Linked DNA regions of Homo sapiens: regions 1, 2, 3 and 4 are each linked to region 5. Evidence: promoter capture Hi-C in 16 types of primary human blood cells and fetal thymus (Javierre and others, 2016). All regions are on one chromosome and are shown on one strand. The core of a region is centred on a gene start or on the middle of the fragment in contact, and the rest is flanking DNA. Distances in the headings are between cores, read along the strand shown.

Region 1 (2,700 bases), core at 91-2,590, 150 kb after region 5:
TAGAGCAATGAAAAAAGAAGCACCAGACAATTCCCAAAGATCACAGTCTACACTGGAGATTCATTCAATCGATAAGCACTTACGATATACAAATCCATGCCCTCCACGGACCTTTGAGGTCAAATAATTTAAAATAGTTTGAAAAACAATGTACAGCATGTAAAACACAGGAATATCTTCTGTAGTAAACACTGAGTCTCCACTCTACCACCATTCCCTACTCAAATAAACTGCTCACATCGGTGGTTTCCAAGGTAGGCACACGTAAACTTCACAATGTAAATATTAATATGTGAATACATGTATATAATTTAAAACAAAATAGCATACAGACATTGGAGAAATAGAGTACGAATGTTGTTATTACAGAGGAACATAATCAAAACATTTGGGGACTACTGACCTATACTACCTAGACTGCTAAAAAGAGGTGAGATTAAAATAAGATTTAGCCGAGTACACGGGCTCACAACTGTGATCGCAGCACTTTGGGAGACCAAGGTGGGAGAACTGCTTAAGCCTAGGAGTTCAAGACCAGCCTGGACACAACATAGTGAGACCCTGCTGCTACCAAAAAAAAAGGAAAGAAAATATGATAAAATAAAATTTATATGCCAATTCTAAAATTTACATGAATACACGAAGGGCTAAGAACAGCCAAAACAATACAGAAGAAATGCAAAGTCAGAGGATCTGTGCACCAGTTATCAAGACTTACCGTGAAGCTGTACTTATTAAGATAGAGTAGCACTGGTTCAAGGATAGTCAAATGGGTTCATGGAAGAGAACAGAGTTCAGAAACTGACCAACACATATATAGACACCTGCTTGACAAGTGATGCTACAGTCCAGTAAGAATGGTCTTTTCAATAAACGGGATATGGAGAGAAATAGAATTATCTTCGCGAATTTGTTGGAGGCAAAGAATTCTTCAACAGGACACAAAAATTATTCACTATTCATCAGAAGACAACATTGAGGCTGGGTGCAGTGGGTCATGCCTAAGTCCCAGCACTTTGGGAGGCTGAGGCCGGAGGATTGTTTGAGGCCAGAGTTCGAGGCCGGCCTGAACAACACAGCAAACCTAACCCTAACCTAACCCTAATCCTGAGCTACGACTGCATCAGTGCATTCCAGCCTGGGCAACAGAACAATTCAGATCCTGTTTCAAAAAAAAAAGGGTGGGCAGGGGAAGGTACCACTGAAAATGAGAAAGTTACAGAGTAGAAGATATTTGTAATATACAAAGAACTACAAATCATAAGAAAAATACAGTCAGCCCAATAGAAAAATAAACAAGAATTCTGAACAAACATTTCATAAAGGCAATTATCCAAATGGCCAATAAACACCAGAAAAGGTATTCAATATCATTTTCACAGGAGAAATTTAACTAAAGACATAATAAGACACCACTACCCAACAAAGTTTAAATGAAGAGACAGACAATGCCACATTCCTGCAAAGACGTAGAGGGTCTCACTCTGTCACTCTCCGAGGCTCAGAGTGCAGTGGTGGGATCACCGTTTATTGTAGCCTCAACCTCCTGGGCTCAGGCGATCCTTCCACCTCAGCCTTCCAATCCTCCCACCTCAGCCTCCCAAGTAGCTGGAACTACAGGTACACGGCATCATGCTTGGCTAATTTTTGTATTTTTCTGGTAGAGATGGGGTTTTGTCATGTTGGCCAGGCTGGTCTCTAACTCCTGGGCTCAAGCGATCATCCCGCCTCAGCCTCCCAAAGTGCTGGAATTACGGGAATGAGCCACGATGCCTAGCCTCTACATTGTTGTTAATTGTTACACCTGGAGCTTCTAGTTCTTTTTTTTTTTTTTCTTTCTTTTTTTGAGACGGAGTTTTGCTCCTGTTCCCCAGGCTGGAGTGTAATGGCGCGATCTTGGCTCATTGCAACCTCCACCTCCTGGGTTCAAGCAATTCTCCTGCCTCAGCCTCCCTAGTAGTTGGGATTACAGGCGCACACCGCCACGCCCAGCTAATTTTTGTATTTTTTTAGTAGAGACGGGGTTTCACTACATTGGCCAGGCTGGTCTTGAACTCCTGACCTCAGGTGCTCTGCCCGCCTTGGCCTCCCAAAGTACTGGGATTAACAGGCATGAGCCACTGTACCCAGCCGGCTTCTAGTTCTTTATTCAGAACCTAGGCTAACCTTTAAGAGTGGATAATATCTAACGATCATTTTGCTTGGCTGAAAGGAAAGATTTCCTTTTTTTTTTTTTTTTTTGAGGCAGGGTCTCGCTCTGTCACTGAGGCTGGAGTACAGTGGTGCACTCAGGGTTCACTGCAGCCTTGACATCCTGGGTTCAAGGGATTCTCCTGCCTCAGACTACTGAGTAGCTGGGACTACAGGCACCCACCACCATGCTTGGCTAATTTTTAATTTTTAATTTTTTTTTTTTTTTTGAGACAGAATCTTGCTCTGTTGCCCAGGCTGGAGTGCAGGTGCATGATCTCAGCTCACTGCAACTTCTGCCTCCGGGTTCAAGAGATTCTCCTACCTCAGGCTCCTGAGTAGCTGAGATTACAGGTATGTGCCACCACACCCGGCTAATTGTTTTTGTATTTTTAATAGAGACAGGGTTTCACCATTGGCCAAGCTAGTCTTGAATTCCTAACCTCAAGGGATCCGCCCACCTCATCCTCCCCAAGTGCTGGGATTACAAGGGTAAGCCACCACGCCCCA
Region 2 (2,700 bases), core at 4-2,503, 190 kb after region 5:
AAAAAAATAAATAAAACAGTACAGTAGGTGAAGGGTAAGTCTTAGAAAACTGGGCTCATTGTCCACTGTCCCTATCTGGCCCTGAATTTGGCATCTATTTCTTACTGTCCAAAAAAAGCAAAACTGCAGTCAGCACCTACAAACAAACCAAGATGAATTAAAAGCTACTTTCTTTCTCTTTTGCTCATTCCTTTTTCTTGAGGAATAAGAGCCCAGAATAGAGGAAGACAGCTTAGAAGAAAAGAGAAAAAGGCCTGAGGAGGGCCTTACCAAAAGACTAAAAGCAGAATTGGTTTACTAGTCTAAAATCACCATCCTCAAAATTAAGTCTTTAAAAAAATTTCTGACGGTAGGAGATCAAGGCAGGCGGATCACTCGAAGCTCAGGAGTTTGAGACCAGCCTGGGCAATGTGGAGAAACCGCATCTCTACCAAAAAAAAAAAAAAAACAAAAAATTGACAGTGTCATTGGTTAGATGTACAATTTTCAAAATGCAAACGAATCTCTTCAAATGGCTGTAGTAATTAGGGTTTTCAAAATGTTATGCTTTTGCCCTACCTCCCGCATTTCCTCATCCAACTTCCGCTGCTCCAAAGCTTCCTTCTCTGCTCTCTTGCGGTGCTCCTTCTCTACTTTCTCATATTTCTTCCAGTACAGAAGCATCTCCTTGGTGAGGCGGCGGGCACGAGGCAAGGTTTCCTTACAGTTCTTCTGGGCCTGCAAGGCAGCTCGACGCACCTCCTTCATGCACTGGTGAGCAAGCTGAAAACAACAACAGCATTACAGCGGAAAGGACCCCATACCAGAAGCTGGTTCTTCCTGGACTCTAAACCACATCATTCCTCAATCTGTTCAGCCAAACTGTCATCCTTGACCACATCTTTCTCCTGCAACTTGATTAATGTCCTTGTACAGTACTGTGACATAGGCCCAGACCCTGTGGTATTATCAGGGATAAGAAATCTATCCAATTTCTATCACCTTAGAAGATGAAAAATTATAATGATGAAGAAGGACCTGGGATGTGCTTGGAAGTTACAAAATGTTATTGCACACATTAATAACAGCTATCACTGCTTATTACATCTTTAGCACCACTGAAAAATATATTAAACCAATTTACTCTTCACAAAAACCCTATGAAATTGGCATTACCATCACCCTCATTTATAAATGAGGAAACACAGTTGAATGACTACCCCAGAGAAACACAACTAATAACATGGCCTAATCTGATCCTCACAATTCTTAAAGGAAGTTGTTTTAGTCTCCTCTAAGGGAAGGTATTCACATCATTATTTCTTAGACGAGACTGAAGACAGGAAGATTCCATGATCTGCTCAAGAAATCAGGGTGGGCTATGGTCTTATCCAAAAAGGTTCAAATACCAGAAATGTGAGGAAGAACAATTTTATTTAATAAACAGATTGAGGCCGGGCGCGGTGGCTCATGCCTGTAATCCTAGCACTTTGGGAGGCTGAGGCAGGCAGATCACCTGAGGTCAGGAGTTCAAGACCAGCCTGGCCAACATGGTGAAACTGTCTCTACTAAAATACAAAAATTATAGGGCATGATGGCAGGTGCCTATAATCCCAGCTACTCGGGAGGCTGAGATGGGAGAATCGCTTGAACCTGGGAGACGGTGGTTGCAGTGAGCCAAGATCACTGCCACTGCACTCCAGCCTGGGTGGCTGAGACTCTGTCTCAAAAAATAAAAATAAAAAATAAACAGCTTGAGAACATTCAGAAACTCTCTTACGAACTATTAGATTCATGATCAACAGGTTACGACGGACAAGAGCAGCAAGATGGACCCCAAAGAAGAAGAATATATTCCAGCAAAACATGAAATGGAAAATACAAAACTACAATTTTACCTTTCGGCTATTGGTGAGAAACAGGTTACGAGCTGAAGCTTTCTGCTTATTTGCCTAAAATATTTAAAAAACAATATTTCATTTAGGATTCATTTTTGAACTAAGACTATGTAGAATGAACAGTCTTTTACTCAATTCCTAGAGGGTTAGAAAATGTCAAGCCAAGCAAGATATATTACTTCTATAAGTCATCCAGATGTATTGTCTCAACGCCATACATAAAACGATTAAAGAAGCATTCAAGAAGAATAAGTCAGCATTGTGGATGCCTTAAATAGTCTTCTGTATACTTTTGGGAAGATGTTAAGTTACATGTAAGGCTTGAAGTGGACTAGAAAAATGTTACAATACCTAAACCTTAGCACTATCCTGATTAAAAACATGTTGCTTACCAGGGCCAATCTGCAAGGCTGAGAGAGCAGGGCATCCAGATACAGGAATCATTAGGAGAAAGATAAACTAGTCTCCTAAGTGTGATTCTAGCCCCACCTCCAGCCTAGGCAAACCTGATGTCACTATTACTCAGTTTCTGCCACCACATAAGCCTAATCTTCTCTAAAACTAAACTCCAAGGAAGACCTAACACAAAATGACCCAGCAGCCCACAACCCAGCTATTTGTGTTTTCCACTCTAGCTAAGGGGAAAAACAAAAGTCAGTACAGAAACCTGACTCCCCATGATGTCTATTTGACATGGAAGAAGATGCTGAAGAGGCAGAGCTGGGTGGCTCTTTCAGTACTGAAGAGTACTCTCCTTGATGTTAAAGAAACAATGGGTTCAAAGTGACAAAGAAGGTCTGAAAGCCATTTCTTTAATGTTTGC
Region 3 (2,700 bases), core at 176-2,675, 130 kb after region 5:
GGCACCAAGGGAACTTGATCTTGCTATTAACTTTTCTCCTTTTGTGTTGATCAAGCTTTAGGGAAATGGCTGTCAGGTTTTGGTACACATAAGGACCTCCTTTGAAGCGGACCAAAAGTGTAGATTTTGAACCAGAAGAACTGAGGGAGGGGCCAATAGACCTATGTTTTTGACAAGCACCCCAGCGTCCCAAGTTGAACCTTGAGAAATACTGCCTTGAGACATATGAACAGCTGACCATGGGCTGTAGGTGCCTCTGGAGGGTACCAACGTGACAGAAAGAGCATCATTTACCAATAACCAGAGAGTACTCTGGCTTGCAGATGAAGCTGAACTGAGTTTGCTAGGGAGCAGTGCCATCTATGGTCCAGATGCAAAACTACAGAGGGTCACAGCAAACTGGGCCTGGAGTTCCAAAACCAGTTCACAACAAAAATAGTTTATCCAAACAATACTAGAATCTCATATCACCTTTATCCTCTCCAAAAGGAACTTGTTTTCGGCTGAGCATGGTGGCTCACACCTGTAATCCCAGCACTTTGGAAGGCTGAGGTGGCAGATCGCCTAAGGTCAGGAGTTCAAGACTAGCCTGGCCAAGATGGCAAAACCCCATCTCTACAAAAAATACAAAAATTAGCCTGGCATGGTGGCGTTCACCTCTAATCCCAGATAGTTGGGAGGCTGAGGCACAAGAATGGCTTGAACCTAGGAGGCAGATGTTGCAATGAGCCAAGACTGTGCCACTGCACTCCAGCCTGGGCAACAGGGTGACAGACTGTCTCAAAAAAAAAAAAAAAAAAGTTAAAAAAAGAAGGAACTTGTTTTCTTGCTTCCAACTTATTCATTTTTCCCACTAATACATGAGCATGGGCAAATAAATATGGACCAAAAGAAAGCAAATAAATACAGGAATACAAAGCAGGTGGATGAAAATTGGGTCTCTCTCCCTTCTATGACTTGACATGGCAGTATCCCAGCAGATCGTGGGTCAGAGCAAACATCTCCCATGTAGGATGTGTGTCGCAGACCTGCAAAATTAATAGCAGCTATACTTCTATAAAAAGTTTAAAAAGTAAGTCTAGACTATAGAAATATGACCAGTTCTATATGTCTTGAACAGCATGCATACTCTTAGATAAGTAAAGCATATTTAGTCTTCTCTAGTAAGACTAAAGCGCGGTGGCTCACACCTGTAATCCCAGCAGTTTGGGAGGCCGAGGTGGGTGAATCACCTGAGGTCAGGAGTTCGAGACTGGCCTGGCCAACATGGTGAAACCCCGTCTCTACTAAAAATACAAAAATTAGCTGGGCATGGTGGTGCCTGCCTGTAATCTCTGCTACTCTGGAGGCTGAGGTGGGAGAATCACTTGAATCCAAGAGGTGGAGGTTACAGTGAGCTGAGATTGCACCACTGCACTCCAGCCTGGGTGACAGAGTGAGACTCTGTCTCAAAAAAAAAAAAAAACAAAACAAAACGAAAAAAAGAAACAAAAAAAAACAACAAAAAAACCTCATACAGACCAATTTTTATACTCACAGATAACCGTTTTGATTTAAAAATTTTTATTTATTTATTTATTTTGTAAAAAAGCAGAACTTATATTGGAATTATACATAAAGACTCTGGGCTCATAGTCTCGAGATGAAAAGCCAAAAGCTAGAATCTCAGCATGAAAGAACAGAGAAACAGGAAAAATGGTTTTTCTGCCTGGGATTCATTTCTAGGCACTCTTATAGTTTAAAAACAAAACAACTTTTTCCAGTTATAAACTTTCATCTATTTTTCAATTTTCATTTTGATGATACCCTTCCAGGTCTAGGATTGAATGCTTAAGAGGTTTGCAAGACACTGTTCTTAGTGAAATATTTTTCAGTGTTTTGAGAGGCTTCTTTGGCCAGGAGCCCAGGATCAAGATATTAATATATTCAGAATCATACAATGTCATGTTGTAAGTATGTAAGCAATGTACTTATGAGGTCCAAAAGAGGGCAAAAATGTCCAATATACTTAGAGTAAATCCTGCTTTCTAAGTCAGCTGTATCCCAGACAGCCTCCCCCTATTCTGCTAACCCCAAGTGACCTCCCGATTTGATCAGAAGGAGAGATGAAGCATGACGTACCGTTCTTCCCTCCCCACAAAAAATGCATACTCTCCCTCGTCCTACAGGAGCTAACCCCTTTCTTGCTTCATTAACCTCTGAAACTACAGTACCTTCAGGGGCTGCCCCCTTAAGCGTTCAGCGCGTCCTTCCTGAGGACACGTATGTTCCTGCTCTAGCTGAAGGAAGCGTAACCGCTCCAAGCGCTGCAGTATTTTGGTAAGAATAATTCCTAAGGCCTTAATTTATTAACCCTGCAGAATTATTTCCTCAGCTAATGATAAAACAGCTCCTATAATTCCTTCCATAGTGGCACAGTTCTTCCTGAACTAACCCTCAAGTTTTCATAGCATGTGTCAGAGAAATTAATTTGCCTAATTCAAGGCCAGGGTTGGCTTCAAAGGACATCAGTTTCTCTCTCCCCAATACAGATGGGTTAGAAGTCAATATAAGATATAATTAGGGTATCTCATGAAATTTTGCCTTATTCACTGATCTGAATCCCTAGGACTGATCTGAAAGGTAAAAGTTGTAGATCTGTGTATGAAATAGAGATATCTAAACTCTTCTTCCTGTCCTCCTAATAATCACGGTGTAATT
Region 4 (2,700 bases), core at 49-2,548, 200 kb after region 5:
AGCTCACTGCAACCTCTGCCTCACAGGTTCAAGTGATTCTCCTGCCTCAGGCTCCCAAGTAGCTGGGATTACAGGCGTCCACCACCACACCTAGCTAATTTGTTGTATTTTTAGTAGAGATGGGGTTTCACCATGTTGGTCAGGCTGGTCTGGAACTCCTGACCTCAGGTGATCCACCAGTCCCAACCTCCCAAAGTGCTACGATTACAGGCATGAGCCACTGTACCCAGCCTAAAATACAAAAATACTAAAAATACAAAAATTAGCTGGGCATGGTGGCAGGCGTCTGTAATCCCACCTACTCAGGAGACTGAGGCAGGAGAATCACTTGAACCTGGGAGGCAGAAGTTGCAGTGAGCCGAGACTGTGCCACTGCACTCCAGGCTGGGCAACGAGAGCAAAACCCCATCTCAAAAAACAACAACAACAACAACAACTAAATGAAATGATAAGTTTTTTTGTTTATTTGTGGCGGTTTTTTTGTATTTTTAGTAGAGACAGGGTTTCACCGTGTTGGCCAGAATGGTCTTGATCTCCTGACCTTGTGATCCGCCTGTCTCAGCCTCCCAAAGTGCAGGGATTACAGGCGTGAGCCACCACGCCCGGCCAACTAAGTGATAAGCTTTAAAGGCAATCATACATCTTTGAGTTGTCTTCTCTTTTTTTTACAATTTTCTAATATAACTTTCCTATCTAAAACAGTGTAACTTCTAGAAAAACCAGGAGAAAATCTTCATGACTGACCATAAAAAATTCTAGATATGCAATCAAAAGCACAAAAGATCAAAAATTAGCCCATGCGAATTAAAAATGTTTACACTTTAAAATATATCATTAAGAAAATGAAGACAAACTAGGCACAGTGGCTCATGCCTGTAATCCCAGCACTCTGGGAGACTGAAGTGGGAGGATCACTTCAGCCCAGGAAAACAAGATCAACCTGGGCAACACAGTGAGATCTCATCTCTTCAAAAGAATTTAAAATTAGCTGGGCATGGTGGCACAGGCCTCTGGACAAACTATTCGGGAGGCTGAAGTGGGAGGATCACTTACAGCCCAGGAGGTTGAGGCTACAGTGAGCCATGATCTTGCAACTGTACTCCAGCCTGGGTGACAAAAAAAAGAAAAAGAAAATGAAGACAAGCCACAGACTAGAAGATACTTGCAAATCATCTATCTGATAAAGGTCTTGTATCCACATATACAACTTTTTTTTTACACAGTTGTTTGTCAGTGTGTACACATAAAACCTACAACTCTATAAGATAAATAACCCAATTTAAAAATGAGCAAAAGATTTTGAACATTTTACCAACAAAGATGTATGACTAGCTAATAGACACATGAAAAAATGCTAAATATTAATAAATTAAAATTAAAGCACCATACTACTTCATACCCACTAGAATAATAAAAAAGACAGGCTAGACACAGTGGCTCTCACCTATAATCTCAACATTTAGGAGGCTGAAGTGGGTGGATCCCTTGAGCCCAGGAGTTTGAGACCAGCCTGGGCAACATAGCAGGACCGTGTCCCTACAAAAAATTTAAAAATTAGCCAAGTATGGTGATGCGTGCCTGTAGTGCCAGCTACTCAAGAGGCTGAGGTGAGAGGATTGCTTAAGCCCAGGAAGTCAAGGCTGCAGTGAGCTATCATTGTGCCACTGTGCTCCAGCCTGGAGTAAGACCCTGTCTCAAAAAAAAAAAAAAAAAAAAAAAAAAAAAACAAACACACACACACACACACAACAAGAGAGTGAGAGAGAGGGAAAGAAAAAGGGAAAAAAAAAATGTTCCAAACTCCCATTGTGGCGATAGTTCCACAATTCTGTAAATCTACCAAAAATATATTCAAAATATACTGAACTGTATATTTTATTTAAATTATGTGAATTTCATAGTTTGTAAATTGTCAGTCTTGGTAATATAAAGAAAAAAGAATGCTAAAAAATACTTTTGGCCAGGAGCAGTGGCTGAAGCTTGTAATCCCAGCACTTTGGGAGGTGAGGCAGGAGGAGAGCTTGAGCCCAAGAGTTCAAGACCAGCCTGAGTAACATGGCGAGACCTTGTCTCTACAAAAAAATTTAAAAATTAGCTGAGTGTAGTGGCATGCACCTGTAAACCCAGCCACTTGGGAGGCTGAGGAGGGAGGATGGTTTGAGCCCAGGAGGTTGAGACCTCAGTAAGTCATGAACGCACCACTGTACTCCAGCCTGCATAACAGAGTGAGACTATCCAAAAAAAAAAAAACTTTAAATTTCACCTTTTCAAAATGAGACCTAACGTGTACCCACCCACTCCAGAAGATTTCAAAGAAATTGGTTTTTAAAATACAACAAAACTCCCTTAAGAGAACAGCAAATAATTCATCTTGATACATGTATAAATGTAAAACTACTCTGCTTGGCTCCATCCCAAGCTTTTATTACAGAACAATTAATCCATGCTCTAGTTATTTTACCTGATAAGGAAAATGACACTAATTAAGGAGGTATGACTACCAAGTAATACGGAGTGATTCGAAATGAATGGAATATTTTCTTTTCTTTTTTTTTTGAGACAAAGTCTTGTAGCCGAGGCTGGAATGCTGTGGCCCAATCTCGGCTCACTGCAAGCTCTGCCTCCCAGGTTCACGCCATTCTCCTGCCTCAGCCTCCCGAGTAGCTGGGACTACAGGCGCCTGCCACCACGCCAGGCTAA
Region 5 (2,700 bases), core at 65-2,564:
TAGTGCCCCTCCAAGCCAGAGAGCCCAGATAGCCCTCAGTGGGGCTGGTGAGAGTCACAGTTCTCCGCACGTGGCCAGGAAGTTGAGCAAGAGTAACCCAACCACATAAGGTATGGTGCAAACCTGGAAACTTCTGAGAGCAAAGGGATGCTCTTAGTTGTTAGGCGGGGGCCGCCCAGCAGAGCCAGGACGGTGGCGACCCTAGTCCAGAGCCTTCCACTTTAGCAAGGTAGAATCCAAGGGCCCCAGAAGGGAACAGACTCCATCTGGGTCGCCTAAGCAGGTGAGAGAGGAAAACCCAACCACAGTCGCGCCCCAGCCCTCGCAGGTCCCTGGCTGAGGACTCCCCTCTCCACCTCAGGCTGGGCGGCCCCCGCCTTCACGCTTGCTCCCACTTGTCCCTCGTTCTTGCTAGGCTTGGCAGGTATTTGTTCCCTGCTCCTTCACGCTCTCAGTGCCGTGGCCACGTCGCTGGGTACGCCCCACCAGGCAAGAGACATTTTCCGTCTTGTTCTCTGCCACGTCCCCAGAGCCTGGAACAGTGCTTGGCACAGAGTGGACGCTCATTCGTGGAGTAAGTGCCTGATGGATAATCCATCACTTGCTTTTCTAGTATGAATGGTCTATTTACGGGTCCAGCGCCCCTGCTGGCTTACGACCTTTTCCAGGGCGGGGAGGGGCTGTCCTCATCTCTGTGACCCCAGCGCCCAGCCCAAGGCCTGGCACAGAGTAAGTGCTCAACCACATTTTGGTGAATGAGTGAATGGAAGCGGCCCAGCAACCCTGAGCCAAGGAGCCACTGTGGGGCAGGTCAGGGCGGTTCCTGGCACAGGGCTTCCCACTAGCCTGGCCACCAGCTCTGCGGTCTCCTGGAAGCTGGGGGGCCTTTGGGTAAGGGAGAAGAGTGGCCAGGAGTTGTCTGCGTGTGCCCTGTGACGGTGGGATAGAGACAGCGATTGGATTGAGGAACGGGAGGTTCCCCGAGGCTGTTTAGAGAGGCGGGAGCGGGAGCTGGTCAGGGAGGCTGGACAGACCACCCGAGGGAGCGGAGCTTGGGCACGAAAGCCAAAACTGGGCGGCGCGGGGCGGGTGGGGAAGGCCGGCTGAGAAAGCCGGGATTGCCTCCTGGTGTCAAAGCTCGGAACTGCAGCAGGATCCTGGGGGCGGGGCTTGTGTTCAGCAGCACTCGCCACGCGCCCAGCCCTCAGCCCTCGTCTCGCCTTCTGCTGGCTGGCCCGGCGACGTTGTGCGCCAGCGTACGCGGGGCTCTGAGAACCCGGAAGTTACGTTTTAGGCCCGCGTCACGGGGGCGGGAGTCAGCTGAGCTGCCGGGGCGAGGTTGGGATCACCTGGCACCGGCTGAAGGGAGCCTGTGATTTTTTTGTAGCGGGGGCGGGGAGTAAGGTGCAAGACTGCGCCAGATTCAAGGACGAGGGCTGCCCGATTATCTCGCTGCATAAGGCAAGAGCAAGAGGATCCTCAGGATTTTAAAGAGGAGGCGACGGCTGCAGGTTCCCAGGATCTGTCAGAGGCTGGGGAGTTACAGCTTCCATTCTGGGGCGACGGGGACCCCGGGGGGGTAGCCCTTTTGTAATCCCCAGGCCCCGGACAAAGAGCCCAGAGGCCGGGCACCATGGCGTCCATCCTGGATGAGTACGAGAACTCGCTGTCCCGCTCGGCCGTCTTGCAGCCCGGCTGCCCTAGCGTGGGCATCCCCCACTCGGGTAAGGAAGAGGAGGGTGCCGCTGCCCCTTTCGGCTCTCCTAGCATTTGCGTGGGAGCAGCGAGGAGGGCAGCTCCAAGAGCTCGGGGTCATCCCCTGGGCCGTGCCTTCCGGGTCTAGGCCCCTGATTCTCCTCAGGCTCTCTTGGCCCCCAGCTGGTGGATAGTCGAAGTTTGAAAGAGCAACGGGAGCTGCCGCGTGATCTAGGCTCTACCGCTAGGGTCCTTTTGAGAGGGAATTGGGGCCCAGATAAGGAATTACTCACCTACAGGGCGCAGTTGGGCTGTTGGGAGAACTTAGAATGGGCTCCCGGCTTCTGCTGATGCTTTTCCCACCAGGCCCCTTCTGGAGGTGGGAGGGAAGGAATGGACAAAGAAAGTGGTGAAGGCGGAGTATTGCAGAGGAAGAAGGGAGGGTCCCAGAGGGAATTTTGTCGCTGAACGGGGAAAATGGAGATGAAATCTTTTTGGCCTTGGCTATAGCTGGGTGCAGCCTGGAGTTTGGGGACGTTTTTGTAGAAAGTAGTGAGTCTCCAGGAGAATGAGGGCATAGGGAGCCCTGGGGAACTGTTCCAGTGAGTGGAGTTAACGAATTGGAGCTGCTTTCACTCTAGTCTTTACCTTCATTCAATGCTCAAAATATCCCAGCACTTGCCAACTCTACACTGAGGCTCATTACCGCATGGGCAGGGAGGGGGGCAGAGAATGGGGCTATACTACTTCAGTTAAGCTGGGATTGCTGGGCCAAAGACCTGATAAGGGAGAATACCCAGACCACCAGTCCCGTCCCACCTCCACGCAGCCCCATTACCAGTGGGAGCAGGTATATCATGCTGTGACAGCATCTTAAGGGTTCAAAGAATCAACCCCTCACTGCTGTCAGAGTGTGGAAAGAGCTCCAGACCTCTATTGTAAAGGTGACCAGCAAACGACTTGATATCAAACTATTTGTTAACCAAGGTCCTGGGGATAGGAATA

The links. The method cuts DNA at HindIII sites, captures the fragments that hold promoters and counts their contacts. A CHiCAGO score of 5 or more calls a contact.
Region 1: a fragment that was not itself captured here is called in contact with the fragment with the promoter of VPS18 in region 5 in 5 of 17 cell types (megakaryocytes, M0 macrophages, M2 macrophages and 2 more); the score reaches 10.1 in megakaryocytes.
Region 2: a contact is called between a fragment that was not itself captured here and the fragment with the promoter of VPS18 in region 5, in 9 of 17 cell types (M2 macrophages, total B cells, M0 macrophages and 6 more). The highest score is 8.5, in M2 macrophages.
Region 3: a contact is called between a fragment that was not itself captured here and the fragment with the promoter of VPS18 in region 5, in 16 of 17 cell types (megakaryocytes, endothelial precursors, naive CD4 T cells and 13 more). The highest score is 34.9, in megakaryocytes.
Region 4: a contact is called between a fragment that was not itself captured here and the fragment with the promoter of VPS18 in region 5, in 5 of 17 cell types (endothelial precursors, M2 macrophages, M1 macrophages and 2 more). The highest score is 6.4, in endothelial precursors.

Annotation. Positions count from the first base shown.
Region 1 is chr15:41,039,612-41,042,311 of GRCh38, forward strand. All of the region lies in intron 24 of INO80 (INO80 complex ATPase subunit), which reads right to left. Among named protein-coding and RNA genes, the nearest start is that of INO80-AS1, 24 kb to the left of the region's middle. The HindIII fragment of the contact is 3,915 bases long and covers 1-2,700 here.
Region 2 is chr15:41,079,143-41,081,842 of GRCh38, forward strand. It overlaps INO80 (INO80 complex ATPase subunit), which reads right to left. Exons shown (of 36, transcript NM_017553.3): 8 at 1,878-1,931; 9 at 559-762. Among named protein-coding and RNA genes, the nearest start is that of INO80, 36 kb to the right of the region's middle. The HindIII fragment of the contact is 1,319 bases long and covers 595-1,913 here.
Region 3 is chr15:41,022,319-41,025,018 of GRCh38, forward strand. All of the region lies in intron 25 of INO80 (INO80 complex ATPase subunit), which reads right to left. INO80-AS1 (INO80 antisense RNA 1) reads left to right here. Exons shown (of 5, transcript NR_170322.1): 4 at 2,169-2,319. Among named protein-coding and RNA genes, the nearest start is that of INO80-AS1, 6.9 kb to the left of the region's middle. The HindIII fragment of the contact is 2,745 bases long and covers 54-2,700 here.
Region 4 is chr15:41,097,542-41,100,241 of GRCh38, forward strand. All of the region lies in intron 1 of INO80 (INO80 complex ATPase subunit), which reads right to left. Among named protein-coding and RNA genes, the nearest start is that of INO80, 17 kb to the right of the region's middle. The HindIII fragment of the contact is 1,357 bases long and covers 621-1,977 here.
Region 5 is chr15:40,893,136-40,895,835 of GRCh38, forward strand. It overlaps VPS18 (VPS18 core subunit of CORVET and HOPS complexes), which reads left to right and starts at 1,315. Exons shown (of 5, transcript NM_020857.3): 1 at 1,315-1,724. The coding sequence starts at 1,634. RefSeq lists a silencer at 1,031-1,200 and an enhancer at 2,041-2,130. The HindIII fragment of the contact is 16,460 bases long and covers 1-2,700 here.